Linked DNA regions of Homo sapiens: region 2 is linked to region 1. The links are contacts of gene promoters, found by promoter capture Hi-C in human tissues and cell types (Jung and others, 2019). All regions are on one chromosome and are shown on one strand. The core of a region is centred on a gene start or on the middle of the fragment in contact, and the rest is flanking DNA. Distances in the headings are between cores, read along the strand shown. Region 1 holds the start of C2orf72 (chromosome 2 open reading frame 72). Region 2 has its middle 22 kb from the start of ITM2C.

The links. Contacts are between HindIII fragments. The study calls those that stand out against the background at their distance.
Region 2: a fragment that was not itself captured here is called in contact with the fragment with the promoter of C2orf72 in region 1 in 2 of the 25 tissues and cell types used here (lymphoblastoid cells and mesendoderm cells).

What each region holds. Positions count from the first base shown.
Region 1 is chr2:231,034,987-231,039,555 of GRCh38, reverse strand. It overlaps C2orf72 (chromosome 2 open reading frame 72), which reads right to left and starts at 2,033. Exons shown (of 3, transcript NM_001144994.2): 1 at 1,357-2,033. The coding sequence starts at 1,990. The HindIII fragment of the contact is 15,599 bases long and covers 1-4,569 here.
Region 2 is chr2:230,840,421-230,845,435 of GRCh38, reverse strand. No RefSeq gene overlaps it. Among named protein-coding and RNA genes, the nearest start is that of ITM2C, 22 kb to the left of the region's middle. RefSeq lists an enhancer at 1,135-1,760. The HindIII fragment of the contact is 4,352 bases long and covers 1,037-5,015 here.

The DNA.
Region 1 (4,569 bases), core at 784-3,283:
ATTGGCAGCATCACAGGTGACAGGTCTCCTTGCTGGGACCCTCCGCCCCCCAACCAACGCCAATACTCCAGGAGACACACAATACAGCCACTTTCTTCATTATCTACTTAAGAGGAAGGGGCTGGAGGGCTTGAAGGGCTGCCCAGCTGGGCAGGGAGAGAAAGCTGGGAGCTGGAGAGTGCAAAGATCTCCCGGGTTTGCCAGATGCAGCTACTCTTTTTTTTTTTTTTTTTTAATACTTTAAGTTTTAGGGTACATGTGCACAACGTGCGGGTTTGTTACATATGTATACATATGCCATGTTAGTGTGCTGCACCCATTAACTCGTCATTTAGCATTAGGTATATCTCCTAATGCTATCCCTCCTCCCTCCCCCTACGCCACAACAGTCCCTGGTGTGTGATGTTCCCCTTCCTGTGTCCATGTGTTCTCATTATTCAATTCCCACCTACGAGTGAGAACATGCTGTGTTTGGTTTTTTGTCCTTGCGATAGCCAGATGCAGCTACTCTTAATGTGCATATTTTCATCCTAGAACATTGGAGAGTTCCTGTAAAGCCTTGTGTTCCAGGAGGAAGGAGATCCTGACCCTTCTGCTGATGGCAGCAGTCACGGGGGCTGGGAAAAGACCCTTAAATCCCTTCCACCTTTCAGGAGAATGTGGAGGGAAAAGGTGGCCTCAGCAGACCTGGGGGAGGCTGAGGGACACAGCAGTTGGGTGCACAGCCTTGGTGGGTGGCCAGAAATCAATAGAAAATGTACTCTTAGTCCCTCTCACCTCCCCACACGTCAAGTCCCGAGCACCCATTCCTTGCCCTCTTCCTAAAACCAGGCAGGGCTTCCAGGACGAGCCTCCACCGCGCTGGAGATGCCCCTCCGCCCCTCCTAGAGCTCCCGACGCATCTCTGGCTGCGCAGCGCCCTAGAATTTAGCTTCTGGCACCGCCAATCTCCTTAGCACCCATCCACCCCCTTGAAACTTTCCCATCCCAAGGCTTTCCCATTTCCTTCCCCACTCCTCTTCTCTCCCCACCCCCACCCACCCCGTAACTCCTAGATCTCGGCCTTGCCCGATTCATCCCTTCTCTCTACCCACTCCCTCTGCCTTCTACTCGGCCCCTCAGCTTTCCCACGCCCCCTAGGCATCTCCCGTGCACTCCGGACCCTTCCGGGACAGACTCGATCCGCTACGCACGGCCCGCTCTCCGCTAGCTGCGAGGCCTGGCTCTAGGCACCTCCCTGCTCTGAGCCTCAGTTTACCTCGGTGCTCAATAAGGGAATGGCCAAAGGGGTCCAACTTGGGGGACGTGCCCGAGCCACCGCCCGCCCGCGCCCAGCCGGGCCCCGCGCAGTCTCACCTGGTTGCCCGGCTCCGGCGGCTTGCAGGGCCCTGCAGGCGGCCGCCTGGACGGCCAGGCAGGAGGCCGGGAGGCCGGGGCAGTAGGCGGCCGCCTGCACGGGCCCCCCCGCCTGGCGGCCGAACACGGCGCGCAACAGCGCCTCCAGCAGCCGCAGCCCCGGCGCCACCGCGTCCTCTGGCCCGGCCTCGGCCACCAGCACCCCGACCAGCGCCGCCCCGGCCCGCCGCCGGCCGCGCACGTCCCGCAGCATCTCCCGCAGGCGGCGCCGCGGCTCCCGGGCGGCCAGCGACGACGCGCGGCACAGCACGAAGACCAGCGGCGAGCGGATGGCGCGCGCCGCCGCCGCCGCCGCCCCCGCCGCCCCAGCCGCCCTCGCCGCCCTCTGCGCCCCGCGCGCCGCCCCGGGCCCCGCGCCCTCTGCCGCCGCGCCGCCCGGCTTGGCCGCGCCTGGCTCCGGCGGGAACACCGCCCGTGCGAAGTCCCGCAGCAGCGCGCGGCTCTGTTCGCGCTCCCACAGCTCGCCCACCAGCAGCACCTGCCCGCGGCCCCCCGCCGCTTCCACCAACGCCTGGAAGGGCGGCTCGGCAGGGCGCGCAAGCCGGGCCGCCAGCGCCTCCAGCTCGCGCTCCATGCTGGCCGCCGCCCGCCCTCTGCGGCCGCCGCGGCCCGGGCGCACCCGCTGCCCGCCTCTCGGGGCGGTGGCGCCCCGGCACAGAGGACACGCCCCCGAGGGCCGAGCCCAGCCGGACCCCCGGGCCCCCGGGCGGGGCCTCTGTGTGCACGCGCCCCTGGGCGCAGCCCGCATCGCGGGCCCGGGTGGGAGGAAGAGGGCTTTCTCCTCAGCCCTCCAAGGGTGGCTCCTCCCGAAGTCCCTGCGCAGACGCGGGGAAACAGAGAGTCATTCATTCATTCATTTGTTCGTCCATCCCACACATACTTACTGCGCACCTACTATGTGCAGGCGCTGGGCAGCCGAGGTTGGGAAGACAGACAATTATCCCCTCACTAGATAAGATCGTTTGGAGACCTGGAGCAGAGTCCTGCACAGTTTGGGGTCTTGCCGAGGTGGGGTGGGAGGTAGGGGGGTAGGGGGCGGAGGGCGCAGAAGTGGGTAGGAAGGTGAGATAAAAGAGAACACGCAGGGGTTATTTCTGCCACCCAGCTTTCCTTTTGGGCTTCAACATTTAGCAAAAACTGACCGAGGGTCCATTATTTCCACAAATACTTATTGTACCACCCCAGGCGCTGGGGTTGAAACCCAGACTGTTTCCGTAAAGCAGAAAGTCTAGGGGGCCAGATGCAGGACACGGATGGTGCTCTGATCTGCGTGGGGAGCAAGGGGCCAGCCAGGTCAGAAGCAGGAATGCATTTCCCTTCCTTCTAAGGATCTAGGTCAGCCTTGTCCAATAGAACATTCTGTGATGATGGAAAACTTTTTTATTGTCTGCACCATATGTGACTATTATTGAGTACCTGAAATCTGGCGAGTGCAACTGAAGAACTGAGTATTACATTTCACGTAATTTGTAATGAAATGTAAAATTAAAGCAGAAAGTGACAAGATGATAATGTACTTAAAGGGCTGGCACCTTTCTCTGAATAGTACCCTAAAGACGCCGCAGAAGCAAGAGGGGAGTTGGTAAGGACTCTGAGAAACCAATGTAAAACCAGGGAAGGCCTGTCGCCTCCTCCCCTCAGTGCCATAGAAGGGGGATAGGCTGAGTGAACGCTATACACTTGTGCTCTTTTCTTTGCTTGCATTGGCCTGAGTAGACCATTTCTCAACCCCATCTCCCCAGCACTGCTGGGAGGCAGAAAACAGCTGTGCTAGCCAGGGATGGCATATCAGGCTGGGGCTAGCAGCACAGAAAAACCAGACCCGGCAGCCTCTTCTTCCCACTTCATGGGTCAGGAATTCCAACCACGAGACCTGCCTCATGAAAGAGGATTGGCCAGGGGAGAGTGCCCAGAAGCTCCCTGAGTGGGGTGTCTGGTGTGTGTGAGGGTGGCACATGGGGAGTGGCTACATTCACATTTGATGCCAGAGGCAAGTCCCATCACACCCCCATTCCTTAAGCTCCCAGGTGGGATATATAGGAAGAGCCTAGGTTTTAGTCTCTTCCAGGTGTACCTATCGCCAACCAAAGTAGCTGATATCTAGGGAAACATGAATTCACTGGGAAAAATAATTAGACTTCTGGGGCCGGGCGCTGTGGCTTGTGTCTGTAATCCCAGCACTTTGGGAGGCCAAGGCAGGTGGATCACCTGAGGTCGGGGATTGGAGGCCAGCCTGACCAACATGGAGAAACCCAGTCTCTACTAAAAATACAAAATTAGCCAGGCATGGTGGTGCATGCCTGTAGTCCCAGCTACTTGGGAGGCTAAGGCAGGAGAATGGCTTGAACCCAGGAGGTGGAGGTTTTGGTGAGCTGAGATCGTGCCATTGCACTCCAGCCTGGGCATCAAGAGCGAAACTCTGTCTCAAAAAATAAATAAATGAATAAAATAAAATAAAAAATAAAAAACAGTTAGGCTTCTGGAAAGTATAAAACAAAGCAGGTTTAATGGATATATGAATTAAGATTCATTTCTTAATAACACAGACAACACTAATAACAATGAAAATTTCTTTTTCTCTTTTGTAGACGTTTGGGGATGGACAGTTTATGGCTGAAATAGTATAATAGTTCTGCTTTACTAGGTGTTTGAAGACTCAGATTTCATACCAAGTCACTATTGCCCTCTGACATCTTCATAATCCAAATTGGCTGCTAAAGCTTGGGCCATCACACCTGTATTCCCAGAAGCTGGGTAGTAGAAGGACTGAGGAAGGAACAAAAATCTGGTTGACTTCAGATTTCTTAGCAACAACATTGGGTTTAAGAAAAAATGGAAAAATTGTTTTAAAGTATCAAAGAAAAATAACTTTGACCCTAGATTTGGATTTCTAGCTAAATTATCAGGTATATAAAGAATCAGAAGGCGTATCACATATAGCCCCTCTTTGAAAACACTATTGGAGGAAGTGCCCTATCAAAAAGGGAACTAAATCTGGCTGGGCATGGTGGCTCACTCCTGTTACCCCAGCACTTTGTAGACTGAGGCTGGCAGATCATCTGAAGTCAGGAGTTCAAGACCAGCCTGGCCAAAATGGTGAAACCCCGTCTCCAATAAAAATACAAAAATTAGCTGGGCATGGTGGTGTGTGCC
Region 2 (5,015 bases), core at 1,963-4,462, 200 kb after region 1:
TCTATCAGGAATGTGTGGTGCACAGAAGCCAAGGGAGGATCATGCTCTAACAGGGAAGGTGTAGTCAACTGTGTCACATGCTGCAGAGAAGCAGGGTAAGACGAAGACAGAGACTGGAAGTCTTGGGTGTCCTGCCTGGCAGCCACAGGGAGAGATCCGTGGGGATGGTGCCACTCTGCACTGCAAACTGATCACCTTGTGAGATTCCCTAGTATCAGTGAGTCCCTGGTCACTGGGATTCCTGCTCAAGAAGTGGGGAATGTTTCTGGGTGTCTGTCTAGACAGCCCCCCACCTGCCAGTGCCAGTAGACATATCCAGAGACCAAAGTACATTGTTAAGGTATTTTCTGTCTTTTAATAACTAAATTATCTTCTCAGACATGAATGGGAAGGTATAAAACACCATTAAAGATTGGGATGGGGGCCTATGAGCAAACCTTACCTGTAGTCTTTCCAGGATGAACCACATAGTCGTTAAGGTAAATACAGAAGGAATAAATAGATAAAGATATGCCTGGATGGTAGGATGGCTGGCTGGATACAGAGTTTCACAACCTTGGGACCATTGTTATTTTAGGCTGAAAAACTCAGTTGTATGGGCTGTCCTCTGCATTAGTAACATCCCTGGTCTCCAACTACTGGATGCCAGAAGCATCCTGCTCCTCACCACCAATTGTGATAACCAAAGAATATCTATCTCTAGGCATTGCTGGAAGTTCCTTGCAAAATTGCCCCTGGTTGATAGATGTTTGGATGGCCACATGGATGGCTGAATGAATGGCTGGCTGGCTGGCTGGCTGGATGGATGGATGGATGGGTGAGGATGACAAAGGCAATAGTGTGGGGAAAAGCAAGAGAGATCAGATTGTTACTGTGTCTGTGTAGAAAGAAGTAGACATAGGAGACTCCATTTTGTTATGTACTAAGAAAAATTCTTCTGCCTTGAGATTCTGTGACCTTACCCCCAACCCCGTGCTCTCTGAAACATGTGCTGTGTCAACTCAGAGTTGAATGGATTAAGGGCGGTGCAAGATGTGCTTTGTTAAACAGATGCTTGAAGGCAGCATGCTCATTAAGAGTCATCACCACTCCCTAATCTCAAGTACCCAGGGACACAAAAACTGCGGAAGGCCGCAGGGACCTCTGCCTAGGAAAGCCAGGTATTGTCCAAGGTTTCTCCCCATGTGATAGTCTGAAATATGGCCTCGTGGGAAGGGAAAGACCTGACCGTCCCCCAGCCCGACACCCGTAAAGGGTCTGTGCTGAGGAGGATTAGTATAAGAGGAAGGCATGCCTCTTGCAGTTGAGACAAGAGGAAGGCGTCTGTCTCCTGCCCGTCCCTGGGCAATGGAATGTCTCGGTATAAAACCCGATTGTATGTTCCATCTACTGAGATAGGGAAAAACCGCCTTAGGGCTGGAGGTGGCACCTGCGGGCAGCAATACTGCTTTGTAAAGCATTGAGATGTTTATGTGTATGCATATCTAAAAGCACAGCACTTAATCCTTTACCTTGTCTATGATGCAAAGACCTTTGTTCACGTGTTTGTCTGCTGACCCTCTCCCCACAATTGTCTTGTGACCCTGACACATCCCCTTCTCGGAGAAACACCCACGAATGATCAATAAATACTAAGGGAACTCAGAGGCTGGCGGGATCCTCCATATGCTGAACGCTGGTCCCCCGGGTCCCCTTATTTCTTTCTCTATACTTTGTCTGTGTCTTTTTCTTTCCTAAGTCTCTCGTTCCACCTTACGAGAAACACCCACAGGTGTGGAGGGGCAACCCACCCCTACACAATAGAAACTAGAGACCCTCCAAGGGAAGGAGGAAGAAACCTGGGAGGTAGAATACAGTCTGCTTAGCCACCAGGGACCCTCTGCTCCTGGCAGTTCTTCAGTGCTAAACCTTTATATATTAATTGACTTGGTTACTTAGGAGATTGGACAGGGACAGGTATCTGGAAAGGAGGGTTGAGGAGTCCAGAATAATTAGTGGGTGGGAACAGGGTAGGCACAGAAAATCTACTCATGCTTTCCTCTCAGCAGCTAGGACAGAACTGTTGTGAACAAAGTCTACCAGGAAATGACTTAAGATGATTCGGTTTCCCAGCATAAAACTGGGCGGACATGGTGAGGAAGGCGGTTCCCCTGAGGTATCTATAGTTATTCATATATCTATACCTATGTCATCTTGGAAGATAGAGATCTAGATCTATATTAAAAGCAGCAGCCGCTAACATGTATTGAGCATTTACTACTTTCAATACAGGCATAGTGCTAAGCACTTTATGTCCATTACTTAATTTCTCCCATCTCTATGAGGTAGTTATTACTACCATTACTATTGTCCCCATTTTATAGACCTGGAAACTGAGGCATTTAATTTTCGCAAAGTCACCAAGCTGCTAAGCGGTAGAACAAGGATTTGAACCCAAGCAGGCCACCTCCAGAATCTGTACTGTCTACCATCAGCATCTTTAATGATTTGTCTGTTCTGCTGTCTATATTCTCAACCTCATCTCCTTTAGTGACTTGGAGCCTTTAAAACAGCAATGCCTGTTACTGATTGCTAGGGGTTCAGCCTAGGTCCCGCTGCTTGCCACACAGAAAGCCAGTCGCTGAGACAGTGAGTATTGCCAAGGAAAATGGCTTTATTACAGGTGACGTCAGCTGGAGAGATGGGAGGCAAGCCTCAAATATGTCTTTCTCTCGCCAACTAAAGTTAGGGGTTTAGATTATAGCAGGGGAAGGAAAACAGGTGGGGCAAGGAAGAAGAGTTGCTCAGCAGGTGGTCAGATGAGGGGTCTAGCGTCTGTCTCATAACCACGTGCAGGAGAACAGGAGTTAGGGAGGGGTGAAGAAGAGGAGCTGGTCAACAGGCAGCAGGTGTGACTCACTGTACAAATGGAAGTTTCTCAAGCTTCAGTTCTATGGGCATCTGGCTTGTTGGAAAATTGAGCCTGTCTTTCCTCTGTTACTTCTGCCGTAATGGCCTCCTTCTCTTCATGAATGACTGGGTCAGGGGTCCCTTACTGGGCCCTGGGGAGAGCAGTTGCTGATGAACTCTTACTTTATGATATGATGTTCCATTCCATCCCATTGCTTATTGTTTTCTCATCTTCCTTTCTGCATGTAGAGACCCCAGTGACAGCAACTTTGTCTTCATTATCTTCATACACCCAGTGGTTGTTACAATGCCTAACTCAAGAAACAGTTGTTCAGTAACTGCTAATAGTAGGTTATTGTGCTTTATCATCTTTAGTGCTTACTAAATTCAGTTGAATAAAACAGTTATATACAGCAAGTTTTATACAGCAAGTATAAAAATACTTCCAAGTGTTTGACATATTATTTCTCTTAATTTGAACATATCCCTTATGTAAAGGTACCACTTTTATCCTGGTTTTACAGACAAGGAAACTGACATACAAAAGGTTAAGGTGGCTGGGCAAATTGGCTCACACCTATAATCCCAGTACTTTGGGAGGCCAAGGCAGGTGGATCACCTGAGGTCAGGAGTTTGAGACCAGCCTGGCCAACATGGCGAAACCCCATCTCTACTAAAAATACAAAAATTAGCGGGGCATGGTGGTGTGCACCTGTAGTCCCAGCTACTTGGGAGGCTGAGGCATGAGAATCACTTGAATCCAGGAGGTAGAGGTTGTGTTGAGCTGAGATCACGCCACTGCACTCTAGCCTGGGTGACAGAGTGATACGGTGTCTCAAACACACACACACACACACACACACACACACACACACGGTTAAGGTACTTGCTTGAGGTCACACATTTAGTAGATCAGTCTGTCTGGATGCATAGCCTGGAGCTCTTACTGTGCAGGCGAGGACTGTGGGAAAGGAGCTGTGGAGGACAATTAGGATGAAGGGAGGTAGAAAGTTGGGCAGAGATGGCTGGATGCAGTGGCTCATGCCTGTAATCCCAGCACTTTGGGAGGCCGAGGCGGGTGGATCACCTGAAGTCGGGAGTTCGAGACCAGCCTGACCAACATGGAGAAACCCCAGCTGTACTAAAAAAAAAAAAAAAAAATTATGTATATATTTAGCTGGGCGTGGTGGCGCATGCCTGTAATCCCAACTACTCGGGAGGCTGAGGCAGAAGAATCGCTTGAATCTGAGTGGCGGAGGTTGTGGTGAGCTGAGATCCTTCCATTGCACTCCAGCCTGGGCAACAAGAGTGAAACTCCCTCTCAAAAAAAAAAAAAAAGACAGAAAGAAAGAATGAAAGTTGGGCAGAGATAACTAAAATCCAAATATGGATAAATAAGTGTTTAAAGACAGCTTTAAAAGATAGTTAGATTTTTTTTCAATAAAGATCAGAAATAGCCCAGTGCAGTGGCTCACACCTGTAACCCCAGCACTTTGGGAGGCTAAGGCAGGAGGATCGCTTGAGCCCAGGAGTTCAACACCAGCCTGTACCACAAAGCGAGACCCCATCTCTACAAAAAAAATTTAAAAATTAGCTGAGCGTGGTGGTGCCCGCCTGTAGTCCCAGCTACTCAGGAGGCTGAGGCAGGAGGATGGCTTGAGCCCAGGAAGTTGAGGCTGCAGTGAGCTGTGATCGCACCACAGCACTCCGGCCTGGGTGACAGAATGAGACCCTGTCTCAAAGAATAAAATAATGATAATTTGTGTAGTATGAGTCTGTCAAATTTAGCTGGCTGTCCTGTGTTTAATGTGGCAGCCCTGCTTGGTGGTTCTCTTGGCCTTGGCCAAATACCCATTTGGAACATCAGGGTTGCAGGCATACTCTTAAAAGCATTAACATTCTTCTCCAATAATTTTTACTAAAGTACAATTTTTCTTAAGTTTCTAAGGTTTTTTTTTTTTTTTTTTCCAGCCAACAGAGCTCTCAGCCTATTATCGTGGGTTTTTTCTCTTACAGGAAATAGGCTAGCTTGAGTAACAGCTTATGATCCTTCTGCATTTTTCTGACAGAATTTGGGCTTGTACTTTATAAGTCTCCAGCATGCTTGATCTTGCCATCTGCTTCGG